Linked DNA regions of Homo sapiens: region 1 is linked to region 2. The links are contacts of gene promoters, found by promoter capture Hi-C in blood cells and fetal thymus (Javierre and others, 2016). All regions are on one chromosome and are shown on one strand. Each heading gives the region's core, a stretch centred on a gene start or on the middle of the fragment in contact. The rest is flanking DNA. Distances are from core to core; before and after follow the strand shown.

Region 1 (4,488 bases), core at 427-2,926, 290 kb after region 2:
TAGTAATTACTGCCTCAATTTCAGAGCTCGTTATTGACCTATTCAGGGATTTGGCTTCTTGTTTTAGTCTTGTGAGGGTGTATGTGTCCAGGAATTTATCCATTTCTTCTAGATTTTCTAGTTTATTTGCATAGAGTTGTTCTTCTTTTTGGCCTTTCTAAGTGTTTTGCATTTCCATAAATATTTTAAATCCGCTTGTTAATTTCTATAAAAAAACTTTCATTTATGGATTTTGACTGTATCAATTTGGGGAGAATAGACACCTTAGCAACTTTGAATCTTCCATCCATACAAGGTATATATCTCCATTTATTTAGATCTTTTAAAATTTATTTGAACGGGGTCAGGCATGGTGGCTCATGCCTGTAATCCCAGCACTTTGGGAGGCCAAGGTGGGCGGATCGTGAGGTCAGGAGTTCGAGACCAGCCTAGCTAATATGGTGAAACCCCATCTCTACTACAAATACAAAAATTAGCTGGGCATGGTGGCATGTGCCCGTAGTCCCAGCTACTCGGGAGGCTGAGGTAGAAGAATCGCTTGAACCCAGGAGTCAGAGGTTGCAGTGAGCCGAGATTGTGCCACTGCACTCCAGCCTAGGCAACAGAGCAAGACTCCGTCAAAAGAAAAAAAAATTATCTGAACAATGAGATCTTGTTAAGTAAATTTTGTTAGATTTATTTCCAAGAATTTTATAATTTTTGATGCTATTTTAAATGAAAATGATTTATGCTTTTATATTTCAATTGTTTGTTGCTAATATGTGAAAATGTCTTTATTTTATGTCATGCAGTCTTGCTAAATTCACTTATTAATTATAGTAACTTTTTGGAGATATCTTAGCATTTCATATATTTGATGATATCATCTGCAATTCCTTCTTAATTTTACACTTTTGTTTCTTTTTCCTGCGTATTGCACTGCTAGCATCTTCAGCACCATGTTGAATCGAAGTGGTTATAGCAATTATATTGAACTGTGTTTTTGTCAGTCTTAGGAGAGACAGTATTCAATATTACACTGTTAAGTATGATATTTGTAGTAGGTTCTTCACAGGTGATTTTATCAGTTTGAAGATGTTCTGTTTTATTTCTCGTTTGCTGAGAGTTTAAAAAAAGTGAGATGCTTTTTGTCTCCTGCATTTATTGAGATGATCGTGAAGTTTATCTCCTTTATTCTATCATATGATTAATTAAATTAATTGATTTTCTATTGATTGCCAACCTAACCTTGCATCCCTGGGATAAATCTCACTTGGTCATGATGTATTATTAGTTTTATATGTTGAGAGATTTGACTTCCTGCTATTTTTAAAGGATTTTTTTGGCATCTGTGTAAACGTGATTTATTGGCCTGTAACTTTATTTTCTTGTAATGTCTTTGTCAGATTTTGGTATAAGGGTTATGCTGGCATTATGAAATGATTTGGGAAGTTTCTTCATTTCTTTATTTTCTAAAAGAGTTTGTATGAGATTGGTGTTATTTCTTTTCTAATTTACGAGTAAAACTATCTGGGCTGGCAGTTGGATACTTTCAGGATTTTCTCCTTATCTTTGAGTTTCAGCAGTTTGACTGACTGTGAAGTGTCTATGCATGGTTTTTCTTGCATTTGTTTTTCTTGTGATTCTTCTGAGCCTCTTGGATCTATAAGCTGAAGTTCTTAACAAAATTTGGGAAATTTTGACATGATTTCTTCTGATATTTTATCTTCCCTATTCCTTCTCTTTTCCCCTTCTAGGACTCCAATTGCTTATATGTTAGACAATATGTTGATATTGTCCCACAGATTCTTGAAGCTCTGTTTATTTTTTTAAATCTTTTTTCTCCCTGGATTTGAGAGTAATTTCTACACAAACTTTGAGTTTCTTTTCTATATGGCTCCTTTTATTCTGGGATATCTACCTTCAATTTCCAGTTGTTCTTGCAACCCCAAAGAGTTTCCTGTCATACCTTAACCCATTAAGACTGGCTTTCTGATCAAGTTTCAGCCACTTCTGCCATAGAGACTGGGTAGTGCCCTTAGTGGAAATACTATAGAGACTTCGAATACCTTTCAGTTTCTGCCTGTTTTTCATTGCTGTCCAATGCCTTCAAGTAGTTTTTTTTTTAAAAACGTTTGTGCAATTATTACCATTGTTATCTATGAGAGGGTTAATATGGTACAATCTATTCCATCATTATTGAAACTAGAACTCTGCCACTTGTTTTTTTTGTTTTTTTTTTGAGATTACTGTGTCACCCAGGCTGGATGCAGTGGTGTGATCTCAACTCACTGCAACCTCCGCCTCCCAGGTTCAAGTGATTCTCGTGCCTCAGCCTCCCAAGTAACTGGGACTACAGGCAGGCACCACCACACCAGGTTAATTGTATTTTTAGTAGAGATGCGGTTTCACCATATTGCTCAGGCTGGTCTCGAACTCCTGACCTCAAGTGATCCGCCCACCTCAGCCTCCCAAAGTGTTGGGATTAGAGGTGTGAGCCACTGCACACAACCCTGTATTCTTCCACTTAGTTAATTTGTTCACCTTTCACTCTGTTTTACAATTTAGAAACTCTGCTATCCCCAACTCAAAATAACTAGTCATTAGATCCTAACAATTCTTTCTCAGGTATGCTTCCTGAACCTAGTGACACCTAACTTTCTTAGAGTCACTGCTTGAGTTCTAGTTCTCATTTAACTGGTTTTCCTTCCCCCTTAGCCTCAGTCATTTCCCATACTCCTTCACTTATCCTCCTAAAAATAATTCCTTATGTTACTCCTTTGTTTTATGACCCCTCTAAGGTTCCTTCAAGATTAAATCTTCTTGGTTTGGTTTATAAAGTCCCTTCCAATTGAATCTATGTCCTGATGTTGTTCCACATAGAACCAATGCTGATGTTAAATTCTTCTCTGTTCCTTAGACACATCAGAACTTTCCATGTTTTTGTGATTTTTGCAGTTCGTATCCTGCCTACTCGGGTCACCCATTTTCATCTGGTTTTTCAAGATGTAATTTTAAAATCCAGTCCACATACTATCTCTTACCGGGTCTTCTTGGCTAGGTTACCTCTGTCATCAACCTCTCTCCTATGTGTTTTTACTGTACTTATAAGCCTCCATGTTGACTCTATCTATCTATCTATCTATCTATCTATCTATCTATCTATCTACTTACCATCTATATAATTTCTGATTTCTCAGGGGATTCTAATCTCCTTGGTCAAAGTATTATGTCTTTCAACTACATCTTTCTGGTATCCATAGCATCTAGTAAGCATTGTACATCTAGTGTAGATTCTCAGTGTATATTTTATTAATGATGATATTACAAAGAATATTTCTCAGCAATGATACTCAAAGCAGTGGTTTTACGTGTAGAAATTAAGTGGCCACAGGCATGAAAGGAGAAATGAATCAGCCAGTTCATGACTATTCTGTTATTTATTGTTTCTTTAGGAAAATCTACTTCCTCATCAAGCACCCCTACAGAGTTCTGCAGGAATGGTGGAACCTGGGAAAATGGCAGATGTATTTGTACAGAAGAGTGGAAAGGACTGAGATGTACAATTGGTAAATTACTTGGGATAATGCTAAAGTGTAAGGTTTACGTCACTCTTGTGTTAATAAGAATAGCAATAAAGCTTCTAGAAGCTTCAGTTAATGGTTACAGAAACAATGGACATAATGATGATGGCTTTAGGATGTGTTTATCAGCTCAATAGTAAAAGCTGAGTTTTCTTCTTGGCCAATTTATCAGTATATTCAATGCACCTTATCTGTTTCCTGACTACTAAGTTTTTTTGCAAACTCACAGTCGTGTTTCCTGGCTGCAATGACTAATCCAGGGCAATGAATGACATGATTCTCTCAGGTCCTTTCAATTGGTAATATGCCATAATATACCATTTCAAATATCACTACTCTAATATATTTAACTTTTCTGAAATCAATATGCATCTTCCTGAGTATATACTTATATTAAATTTTTATCTTTTCTTCCTCTACCTTGAAGAGTTGTTATTAAGTTAGTGGTTTGATTTCAATCAATTGTGTCTCAGAATCAAAGTTCAAGGCCATTTTTAAATTTGAGGTGTGCTTCCCAACACCGTACACTTCATGCTGTCTGCTTAGGGTTCAGAGCCCTAGATATCCACTGCTATCATTTCCTATACTCCTACCAGTCAATATATCCCACAGATCCCATGAATTTGCCTTTTTGCTTTGCCCACATCCTCATGGTACCGTTGACCACTATAGGCTCTATATTTTTAGTTCTGAAGATTCCAACTAATCTGTTACAGTATCCTAGCTCACATTCCCTCTCTACCCAGGTTTATATTGTGCACATTTTAACTGGAACCTGTTGTCTAACATACTAGTTATTCTAACGGCAATGACTTAACCAGATAGCAAAGTATAGAAGTTCCTCACAGGCCAGTGGGTTCTATAAGCCTTCTATTGCCTTTCAAATTTCACTGCATAGGTTCTGACCTTTGACTTTTATCTGGTT
Region 2 (4,964 bases), core at 2,465-4,964:
ATACTTTGCCCTACACATCTCTTCCTTGTAGCCTTTGCAACATCCTTTATAATAAACCAGGAAACATGTTTCCATGAGTTCTGTGAGCTGCTCCAGCAAGTTATTCAAACCCAAAGATGGGATCATGGCAACCCCAACTTGAAAGTGGTTGGTCAGAAGTTCTGGAGTCCAAGACATATGACTGGTGCCGGTGTGTCTTCCTCAGGTAGACAGTGTTGGAATTGAATAGGAGGATACCCAGCTGGTGTCCGCTGCTTGGTGGTAGGGAGGAACCCCCTCACATTTGGTCCCAGAATTCTTCTGTGATGATGATTGTTGTGGTGGTGATGTAAGAGCAGAGGAAAAACACGGAGAGTTTTCCTGGAACACATATCCACCTCTCCCCCAAAAACTGAGCTCACGTTCCCCTAGACTCACCTCATACTATGAAGCGGCAGCTGGAGGAATGCTGATGGAAAGGAGAGACCAGTTAGGAAGTGCCTGTAGCAGTCTCCCCAAGGTGAGGAAGGCCTACCTGTGGACGGTGGTGGTGGGAACTGAAAGGAGGAATCAGGGACATTTCCTGAGAGTAAGAAGAGCCCTGTCCCTTACCAGAGGTGGGGAATGAAAGACTCGAAAGTCACTGAAGTGACTTAGGTTTTCTTGGAGGGCTGGAAAGCAGGGAGAATTAGAAAACTGGGCATAAATTGTGGTGCCTGTAAGTGCTGGGTGGAGAAGCTCTTTTGGAGGTGATACATTTAGTTTCACATAGTTGAGTTGGAACTGATGTTGAGACATGTAAATAGAGATGGCGGCAGCCGGAGATGTTGAAATAGGTCCTCTGGAGTAAAAATAAAAATCTGACTAGTAACAGCCTGGAAATGGTCATTAAGCCTGTGAGACATGGGTAGAAATGAGAATAGAGACTGAAAAGGCACACCAGATTTTTAGCTGGGCTTTCAAGATCCATTTGGCCTGGTAGTTTTGTTTTTTGGCCTATTTTCATACGTCAGATGAACAGGAACATGGAAACGAAGGCAGAGCTGCTGCAGAGAAGGGACAGTGAGGGGAGTGGTGGTGGGGAGGGCTGCACAAACTTCACCCTTCAGCCAGATTCTTCTTCCTTTGCCTCTAAATCCTTTCACATACAGGTGAGGAAAAGGTCCTGAGGGTGAGGTGATTTGCCCTAGGTATTAACATCTAATCAGTGTCAGAGCCAGAACCAGAACCCAGTGACTAGCTTTTCCATTGTGCCCAGAAAGTTCTAAAGAAAGGTTTAAAAAGCGCACTTTCATTTAGCTTTTCCTTTTCTAGGAACACCCCTAGTGCCCAAGTCAGCAGTTTCCCTGCATGTGACAGAGGGACACAGTACCCATAGGCTTTTGGTCTTGATGGCCTTCTCCTGGTCCTGCTTCTCTCTCTCTCTTTTTTTTTTTAATGGAGTCTGGCTCTGTCACCCAGGCTGGTGTGCAGTGGCACAATCTCGGCTCACCGCAACATTCGCCTCCCAGGTTCAAGTGATTCTGCTGTCTCAGCCTCCTGAGTAGCTGGGATTACAGGTGTGTGCCACCACGCCCAGCTAATTTTTGCATTTTTAGTAGAGACGGGGTTTCACCATGCTGGTCAGGCTGGTCTCGAGCTCCTGACCTCTTGATCCACCTGCCTCCACCTCCTGAAGTGCTGGGATTATGTTAATTATTAAATCTAGGAGGAGGACACAGCTGTTCCTCCACCAGGCAGTGGCGCCCGGCCTGGTCCTTCTCCTCTAATGGCTCCTTCCCAGGCTCCACAGGCCCTTCTTCTTTTGCGTGTGCCTTTCATACTCCGCTTGTGTGTTCTCATCCAAATTCAGAGCTTCCTCTTAGTTAAAACTGCTGGTGACTCCCAAGTCAATTTCCAGCCCAGACATCTTCTGAGCTTGAGGCTTTGGTCCGGTTGCCTACTGGGCATCTCCACCTGGATGCCATGGCTCATGCCTATAAGGCCAGCACTTTTTGAAGCCAAAGTGGGAGGATCACTTGAGCCTAGGAGTTTGAGACCAGCCTGGGCAACACTGTAAGAATCCACTTCTAAAAAAATGAAATAATTTGCATTTTGAACAAGCACTTCAAATAACATTTCCAGCCAGGTTTAGGACCACTATTAGTTACAATGTTAGTCCAATAAATTTGGAAATCTAGATGAATTTTTTTAACAGGTTGTAAGTGACCACAGGTTGACCCTGAAACCTCATAGGTTAATAAGCATAGCAGAAATGAAAAGGTTTTTAAAGATCTTCCTGCTACAAAGCCAAGTCCAGATAGTCTCTTAAGCTGCAGAAAGACCATAACTGCTATGTATTTCCCCCCAATTTTTTTTTATGAAAGCTTAAAATTTTAAACTTCTACAAAGTTTTAATCTAGTACCATGAACAGCTGTGTCCTCCTCCTAGATTTAATAATTAACATTTTGCCATATTTGCTTTATCTTATGTGTTTTCTTTTTGCTGACGATTTTCAAGTCAAACATTCTGATGGTTCATCCCTAATACTTCCTCATTTTCTAAGAGTAAAGAATTGTCACAAGCACAACACTATAGCACACAAAATAATTCAGAAAAGCATCAAATATCTCGTTCATATTTAAATCTCCCTAGTTGCCCCCAAAATGTTTTTATAGTGTTCTTTTACAAACCAAGATCTGTTTCAGTATAAACTATTCTGGGGCATTCCAAAAGGTGGTTAAGTTTTGGATTTTTGTTCCACAAGTCTGACAAGGCACAAAAACACAAAACACGAAAATTAAAAAGCAATCTAATAAATAAAAATGCAAAAATCATAGTCTATAGGCTGGGCGCAGCAGCTCACGCCTATAATTCCAGCACTTTGGGAGGCTAAGGCAGTAGGGTCTTGAGCTCAGGAGTTTGAGACCAGCCTGGGCAAAATAGCAAGGCCCCACCTCTATTAAAAGTAAAAAACTTAAAAAAAAAAAAAAAAGAAAGAAAGAAAGAAAAAGAAAAAAGGAAAAGAAATAGCTAGGTGTGGTGGTGTGTGCCTGTAGTCCCAGCTACTTGGGAGGCTGAGGACGGAGGATCGCTTGAGCCGGGAGGTTGAGGCTGCAATGGGCTGAGACTGCTGCACTGCACTCCTGACTGGATGACAGAGTGAGACCCTGTCTAAAACAAACAAACAAAAAAGGATATTAGCAAAGAGATGACAATGTATTCGAGGACTGACTTGTTGAGGGCATGGCGTTGAACCCTCAGCATCTTTCCCGTTGGCCTAGCAGCCTTGTAGTCAGATTTTACAGACGTCTCGCGTGCCTAAACCAACCAGGGTCATTCCGTCCCCGTCACAGAGACTTGTTCAAATAGCTCAAGCCCATCAGCATACGGTGTTAACCTGGCCACAGAGGTGATTCAACCAGCTAGAAGTTCAGTCCTTTTGCGGAGAATCAGCAAACGCTACAAATCAGGGCTTTCCTCCCTGAAAAGTCTGGTTGTTAAGACATTCACCAGCACACCACCTCGACTTAGGCCGTTCCCTTTTGCCCTTTGCCTTTCGAGGCATGCTTTTTCCGGACTGTGTTGCAATTAACCATTTCTCGTTGGTCCGTCCTGGTGTTACAGGCGCACTGGAATGAACGCAGACCCTTCTCTCCTCCCGGCCGGGGCCAGGAGGAGGGGTGGGGCGGGGCCTCTGACGCGGTCCCCGCCCCACCGTAGCGACGCCGCGGTCCGCCGGATCTCCAGCGCTCAGTCCGCGCCGCAGGTGGTGCTTGTCTGCAGAGTCATGACCTGTAAGTGGCGCGGCCGCGCGCTGCAGCTCGAGTTCGGGCCGCGGGGGAGGCTTTGGAGCGGCGCCGGCGGTGGCTCGGCCGGCTCAGCCCCTCCGCCCCGCGTCCCCGCCGTGCGCGGCCTTCCCTGAGGCGGGCGTCCGCGTGGGTCCGGGATCGCGTGGCCGGGCGGCCGGGCGCACTCCCGGGATTCCAGGCTTCCGGGGTGGCGGGCGAGGCCCAGAAAGCACCAGGCCACCCGGCCGCGCCGGCACCCGCCGCGTCCTGCTTGACAGAGGCTGATGGACGTGTATTTCTCCACGGTGTGGGCCGCGGTGGTAGGATCCAACTCCCTTGGGTGTTTTCAAGTTGCGTGACCTCCTCCAGCCCCGCCCTGCACAAAGGTGCCCAGGCGGTTCTTCGTCTCCCCACTCACTTTCCAGCTCCAGATTTTGACTTGGATTCTTGCTGTGTCACTTACTTTGTTCAGTGACTTTGTGCAGCTTTCCCCCTGCAAGTCCCCTGTTTCTTTATTTGTAAAATGATGTTAATGATACCTCACACAATGATGTTAATGTGTGAAGGACCTGGCACATTGCTTTAAATGTTATTCCTTTGTTGTTTCCTTCGCTCACAGTATTTTATTCTTTTTTTCCGCCCCTTGGTAAGGTCTTCGTTGTTAGATTATGATGAATATTAGGGCAGCCTTAAAAGTCTTCACTTTACAGATGAGATGGAGTGACGGGCGTCTCCTCCTCAGCATGAGGAACTGCCCAGTGGCGGGGTTTCCCTGCTGCAGCATGTCTGTAGAGTGGGTCATTTGCAGAATGATAGGCAGTCCTAAGCTTAGTTGAGGACCCCGCCCTTGTGGGTGAGATGTGTAGGAGAGGAAGCCATCAGCGTAGCCATGGTGAGCTTTATCTTTCCCACCCTCGGAAGCACAGACATGGCCCGGCACGTGGCTCACGCCTGTAATCCCAACAGTTTGGGAAGCTGAGGCACGAGGATCGCTTGAGTTCACGAGTCAAGAGTTGGAGACCAGCCTGGGCAACATGGCGACACCTTGTCTGTACTAAAAAATACAAAATTAGCCCGGTGTGGTGGCACGCCCCTTTAGTCCCAAACTACTTGGGAAGCTGAGGAGGGAGAATGGCTTAACGCTGGGAAATGGAGGGGAGACGTTTAGTGGATTTATCTGCTGTTCTGATAACAGCTCAAAATATCTGTTTGCC

What was found. The method cuts DNA at HindIII sites, captures the fragments that hold promoters and counts their contacts. A CHiCAGO score of 5 or more calls a contact.
Region 1: a contact is called between a fragment that was not itself captured here and the fragment with the promoter of NIT2 in region 2, in 1 of 17 cell types (megakaryocytes). The highest score is 5.3, in megakaryocytes.

Annotation. Positions count from the first base shown.
Region 1 is chr3:100,626,164-100,630,651 of GRCh38, forward strand. It overlaps ADGRG7 (adhesion G protein-coupled receptor G7), which reads left to right. Exons shown (of 16, transcript NM_032787.3): 2 at 3,435-3,548. Among named protein-coding and RNA genes, the nearest start is that of ADGRG7, 19 kb to the left of the region's middle. The HindIII fragment of the contact is 3,882 bases long and covers 1-3,617 here.
Region 2 is chr3:100,331,043-100,336,006 of GRCh38, forward strand. It overlaps NIT2 (nitrilase family member 2), which reads left to right and starts at 3,715. Exons shown (of 10, transcript NM_020202.5): 1 at 3,715-3,756. The coding sequence starts at 3,750. RefSeq lists enhancers at 3,483-4,051, 4,145-4,194, 4,215-4,274, 4,395-4,474 and silencers at 3,715-4,044, 4,443-4,737. The HindIII fragment of the contact is 2,232 bases long and covers 2,344-4,575 here.